Regions from separate parts of the Homo sapiens genome. Here region 1 is linked to region 2. The links are contacts of gene promoters, found by promoter capture Hi-C in blood cells and fetal thymus (Javierre and others, 2016). All regions are on one chromosome and are shown on one strand. Each heading gives the region's core, a stretch centred on a gene start or on the middle of the fragment in contact. The rest is flanking DNA. Distances are from core to core; before and after follow the strand shown.

What was found. Contacts are between HindIII fragments. The CHiCAGO score rates a contact against its expected background, and 5 or more counts as called.
Region 1: a fragment that was not itself captured here is called in contact with the fragment with the promoter of MALT1 in region 2 in 2 of 17 cell types (total CD4 T cells and naive B cells); the score reaches 7.2 in total CD4 T cells.

The regions. Positions count from the first base shown.
Region 1 is chr18:59,081,534-59,084,658 of GRCh38, forward strand. No RefSeq gene overlaps it. Among named protein-coding and RNA genes, the nearest start is that of SEC11C, 57 kb to the right of the region's middle. The HindIII fragment of the contact is 2,402 bases long and covers 396-2,797 here.
Region 2 is chr18:58,669,877-58,672,873 of GRCh38, forward strand. MALT1 (MALT1 paracaspase) reads left to right here and starts at 1,589. Exons shown (of 17, transcript NM_006785.4): 1 at 1,589-1,976. The coding sequence starts at 1,768. It overlaps MALT1-AS1 (MALT1 antisense RNA 1), which reads right to left and starts at 1,997. Exons shown (of 2, transcript NR_164150.1): 1 at 1,593-1,997; 2 at 133-932. LOC105372146 (a long non-coding RNA gene) reads right to left here. Exons shown (of 4, transcript XR_935537.3): 4 at 2,737-2,983. RefSeq lists an enhancer at 908-1,167 and a silencer at 1,328-2,117. The HindIII fragment of the contact is 13,202 bases long and covers 1-2,997 here.

The DNA of each region.
Region 1 (3,125 bases), core at 347-2,846, 410 kb after region 2:
CAGGCACCCACCACCACACCCAACTAGTTTTTGCATTTTTAGTAGAGACGGGGTTTCACCATGTTGTTCAGGCTGATCTGGAACTCCTGACCTCGTGATTACCCACCTCGGCCTCCCAAAGTGCTGGGATTACAGGTGTGAGCCACCGTGCCTGGCTGGGGTTAGAGTTTCTACGTGCTTTTCTGGAACACAATTTAGAGTATCTGATAACAGTGCCCTAGCTGCAAATGGGTTTTTAAAAAATGTAACATTTAGCTTTCTGGTTTCTACAGTACAGCAGTGAGAAGCCGGGGGGATCTGTTTCAGGCCAGTCCCTTTATGGAACCCACAGCTGCTGCAAGGACCAGCCTATTAGAATCTTCGGACACAGACTCTGCAGTGGCACCAGGGAAACAAGCTTGCCTAGCATCACACAGCAGCATATGTTCAGCTGGGGCCACCGCCCCTTTTGGCTCAGCACAGGTGCAACGCAAAGGAGCTTTGCTTTTCCTGGGCTCAGGGAAAGTTGAAGGCAACCTGAGAATAGGTGCTTCCTGGGGAACGGTGTTGAACCTAACCCCCTTCCTCCACTCTTTAAAATCAGGTAACTAGTGAACTGGCACCCACCCCGAATCTCTCCTCATGTTACATCGGGGCCCAGGATACGTGTGCAAACTGAGCTTCGGAGTCACCCCACAATCCCATGGTTCCTCTACGTCAGCGATTCTGAAACTATTTGGACTCGAGATTTCTTTATATCTTCAACATTATCTGGGACCCGAAGAGCCTTTGTTTATTATGTGGAATATATCTATTGATATTTACTATACTAGAAATTAGAAATGGAAAAAATGGGATAATATTTATAAATTCCTTTAAATATAATAAATTATACATTTCATGCTAACATATTTTTATGGAAAATACCAGTTATTAATTTTGAGACAGAGTCTTGCTCTGTTGCCCAGGCTGGAGTGCAGTGGTGCAATCTTGGCTCACTACAACCTCCATCTCCTGGGTTCAAGCGATTCTCATGTCTCAGCCTCCCGAGTAGCTGGGATTACAGGCACATGCCACCATGCCCAGCTAATTTTTATATATATATATTTTTTGAGACAGAGTCTCCCTCTATTGCCCAGGCTGGAGTGCAGTGGAGCAATCTCGGCTCACTGCAACCTCCACCTCCTGGGTTCAAGCAATTCTCCTGCTTCAGCCTCCCAAGTAGCTGGGATTACAGTCACGTGCCACCACACCTGGCTAGTTTTTGTATTTTTAGTAGAGACGGGGCTTCGCCATATTGGTCAGGCTGGTCTCAAACTCCTGACCTTGTGATCTGCCCACCTTGGCCTCCTAAAGTGCTGGGATTACAGGTGTGAGCCACCACACCCGGCTAATTTTTATATTTTTAGTGGAGACAGGGTTTTGCCATGTTGGCCAGGTTGGTCTTGAACTCCTGATCTCAGGTGATCAGCCCGCCTCAGCCTCCCAAAAGTGCTGGGATTACAGGTATGACCCACTGCGCCTGGCCTCTTTTTTATTTTTTTTTTAAGCTCAGGGTAGGGCATATATTTTCAAAACAAAAAATGCTAGCGAGAAGACTGTCATTGTGCTACAGTTTCAGAAATCTCTTTAATAGCTGGCTAAATAGAAGACATAGCTGATCTTACATCCGCCACTGCTGTCAGTCTGTTGCAGTATCACATATCATGTAGCTTCTGGAAAACTCCAGCATACACTCACTCATAAAGGAATGAGAAGGGAAAAAAGCAAGCATCTTGGTTTTATTCTGAAAATAGTGTAGACCTTATGGATTCCCTGGAAGTCTTTCAGGAACTCCTGGAGGGTACCCAGATCACACTTTGAGAATCGCCGCTCTAAGCCAATATGCAGATTAATGGAATGAATAACCGTGGTGTATTTCCCACCTAAAAGACAGGCTCTGTGCTGAAGACCGACACTGACAGCTTTCGGCCAGGAACTTATCTTTCCCAGCAACAAAGAACAGGGTAAGATACACATGAAAGTTTTAGGGGATCATGAAAAGAAGGAAAAAAAATTCAGAGACAAGACAATTGGAATACCCTTGACTGAGACTCAAAAAGAAAAATGAAACTTTTAGTACATCATATTGAAAATCCCATGGATTCAAAAAGAAGGCAGCATGTATGTAAGCCAAAGTGACGGCATAAGGAGTTCTTTGTTAGAAAACAGGGAAAGAGAAGCAAGAGAGCAGGCAGGCAGAAGGGCAGCCAGGACCATCAGCTCGGGTGCGTGAAATGAGCACGGGGAAAGAAAGGGGTTTCTTTTCTGTTTTGTTTTAAGTAGAATCGTAATTGGGATGGGAAGGGACTTTAGAGATAATCTATTCAAGGACATCATTTTGTAGTGAGGCAACTGTGTTGTCTCCTGCCCGAGTTCACCCACCTGCTCTTCCTACCAGACCACGTGGGCAGTGCACTGGAACAAAATCTCTCTATCAGATTATCTCTCCTCTGTTTGTCTCCCTCTCCACCTCTGTGTTCATATGCATAACACACACACACACACACACACACACACACACACACACACACACACACACACACGTTTTCTTTCCAAATTTCCTCTTAACAAAGTCTAAAGAATAATCACTGTTTCTTGCCTCTATGATTTTTTTTGACCTCCTCTGAACCCCACACATTGACGAAGTGCCAGCCATAGCAATAGTTTCAGACCCGTGGAGTCAGCTGTGCTGTTGCCAACCTCCATCACCTGTCCGCCTTTATCCTGGGCTCTGTTCCTGTGGATTTGAACAAATAGATGAGCGGCATCGGAAGAAAGCTTTAGCTGCATGTGTTTGGGTGACCACGAGAGGGCAGCACGTAAGAGACCAGTGTCGGCCCCGCTGCCTTCTTGAACACACCGGAAGCCTCCTAGGAAAACTGCAGATTTTGTCAGACTGTGAAGTAGAAGAGTCAAAGAGCCTTCATTGCTTCCTTTTAAATGACCAGCCTACTAAGGAATTTAGAATGCCCAAGTAAGGTTTTCACTTAATCCTTTAAGAAATACATCTAATATTTCTAATCTAATCTATCATTTTCAATGGAAAACAGTATTTTTTTTTTCAGTGATTCTCACTGCTTTCTTTCTGAGGAACTTGAAATGAA
Region 2 (2,997 bases), core at 339-2,838:
GTAAATAACACTGGCACCCATTTAACTCGTATGCACACGAGAGGTTGCATAAGCAACGCTTTGTACATGGCAGACTTTTCTAAGAAGTCTAAATTTAGAAGACCTCTGTTGAATTTAAATTAAAAGGCAGGATTCCAGTAAAGACTAGAAGATTTTATTTCCATAATTGGCACATGCAGGTAACAGATCCTCAGAAAATATTTGTACAGTAATTGAGGACAAAACAGGAAGGCACCTGAAGCGGTTGGGAAAGGCTTGCCAAGTCAAACTGAGTATGAAACGGCACTTGTATGTGTAAGGGTAATAGCATTTACTGAGTCATCTACGATGTGCCAGTTACCGAGTTAAGTGCTTCACATACATCAACTCCTTTAATTCTGGCAACAACTCTATATAAACTGTATTGTCAGTCCTGTGTTAATAGATGAGGCAGAGAAATTAAGAAACTTATTCAAGCTCCTAACACTTGAATCGAGCAGATCTTTCATGCTCTTAGCCATCTCACTGCAGTCTGAATTCTTAACTTATGCTAGAGTGAAGTTTAATGACTGCTTGTGCTAGAATGTGGTGGAGACTGTATGGCGCACCTACCTCGCCAACATGTATAAGAATATAGGTATCCAAATTACTGGTCAGAAAATCCTGCGGCCTTGGGTGATGAAAAGCTAATGGCAACAGAAATTGGGCCAGGAAGCCTCGTGTAGGGAACTACCTGACTGGTCACATTTCGTAAGTTACTTCCTTTTTGTCCCAAACGAAGCCATAGTTTTCAAAGGGATAATGGCCTTGGATGTTGCTAAGATTGGCAGAGAGAGCTCAGGTGTCGTCCATTCCGGATCATTCCAGGGAAAGGCATCCTCTACAGGGTTGCCTGCTTTGATGACGGAGATTGCGGGCGGCAGTCTGACGCGGTGTAAACCAGATGATTCCTGCTAAAAACAATCATTTCCAAGATCTGATTAGCCCTAAATATGCCACAGCTCAGTTTGCAAAGTAGTAATTGTTTAAAAGTCTAGGCAAAGATTTTGGCCAATTCCAACTCAAGTATCCGGATCTCCAGCACTACTTCCCTCTAGCAATGCCATACACATCTAACCCTAAAACGAGGAAGCGTCCGCTGAGGTTGCCCACTGCAGGATGCTGGTGTGTCGCCGGGCACATGAAAGTCCCTGAGTCAGGGGAGAGCGCTCGCCGGGGACTGCGGGCGGGAGCCGGCGACTGAGAACCGCTTGCCCCGCTCTCTGGCGTGAGTACGCAGGCCTCCTCCCACGGTCTCAGGAAGCCCAGACGCCGCAGGCTTCCCCGCCGTAGAGGAGCTGCCGGGGCGTAATTCCTCCACCGCTTCCTCCTCCAGCTGCACCCACCCGTCCTTTCCTGCTCGGGAGGGCTGGGTTTGAAGCGCGCGCCACGGCCAGCCCGGGACCGCGGGGGAGGGCGAGGGAGGCGCGCAGCCGCACGCACGCAGTAGGCAGCCCCGCCCCGCCCCTCGAGGCCCAAGGTCCCGCCCCTCGAGGCTCCGTGCCCCGCCCCCCGGGTGCCCCGCCCCTTTGCGCGGCTGGCGCGGCCAGCAGGCCAGGCTCCCCTCGGCAAACCTGTCTAATTGGGGCGGGGAGCGGAGCTTCCTCCTCTGAGGGCCGTGCCGCGCTGCCAGATTTGTTCTTCCGCCCCTGCCTCCGCGGCTCGGAGGCGAGCGGAAGGTGCCCCGGGGCCGAGGCCCGTGACGGGGCGGGCGGGAGCCCCGGCAGTCCGGGGTCGCCGGCGAGGGCCATGTCGCTGTTGGGGGACCCGCTACAGGCCCTGCCGCCCTCGGCCGCCCCCACGGGGCCGCTGCTCGCCCCTCCGGCCGGCGCGACCCTCAACCGCCTGCGGGAGCCGCTGCTGCGGAGGCTCAGCGAGCTCCTGGATCAGGCGCCCGAGGGCCGGGGCTGGAGGAGACTGGCGGAGCTGGCGGGGAGTCGCGGGCGCCTCCGCCTCAGGTGAGCTCAGGGCCGCGGCAGGCCGGGCGCGCGGGTCGAGCGGGGTGGGCTGCGGTGGGGAGGTGGGGGCGCTGTCGGTGGGGCTGAGCGCGGCGGGGGCCGCCGGCGTGAGTGAGCGGAGGTGGGGAGGACTTCGGTCATTGAGGCGGAGCGGAACTCAGCAGCTCCCCGGAACGCCTGGGGTTTGAGAGCGGGGCCCAGGGCTCTGGAGGGTGGAGGCAAAAGTGGCCCAGCGGCTGCCTCGCTCCCTGTTCCCACCCCCGCCCCTGGTGAAAGGGAGAAGTCGAGGTTGACCCCGGAGGATAGTGAGAGAAGGAAAGCTGTCAGGGGACCCCTAGGATGGGGCAGTCATCCAGAGGACTTAAAATGCAAAAGAAAGGGATGTGGACACTGCTCTGGGAGACCTAAGGAAGGCTGGGAAGAAGCGCAGGCGAGGTGATGAATGCAGAGGGTGGGGTGCAGGAATTCATGAACATTTTGCAAGGTATTGGGAAAGACTGACGCCGAACTCATCATCTCCCTCCATCAAACCAGGTTACCACGTTCTCTTCTTGACTTCACCATGAACATGAAACTCGAAGTAAAACTATTTTCCTTGTTAGGTTTGGAATGGCTGTATTAGGGTTCCTGAAGTTTTGGTCTCGAGACTCCTTTACCCTCTTAAGAATTATTGAGGACCCCAGAGAGCTCTTATGTGGGTTAGAGATAATACATACATGTAATACATACTGATATTTACCACCTTTGAAATTAAAGCTAAGACATTTAAAAAATATTAATTTATTTAAAAAGAATAACCCATTATATGGTAACAGAAATAATACTTTCGTGGAAAAACAAATTTTCCAAAACAAAAAAGTCTATTAGAGAAGTGGCATTGGTTTTCATTTTGAAGATCTCTTTAATGTCTTGGCTTAATCACAGAGCTGGATTCGTTTATGTGCTTCTGCATTCAGTCTGTCGCACTATTACAGGTCACAGAACGCTGGAAACTGCAGTGTCCACTCCTGAAAGAATGAAT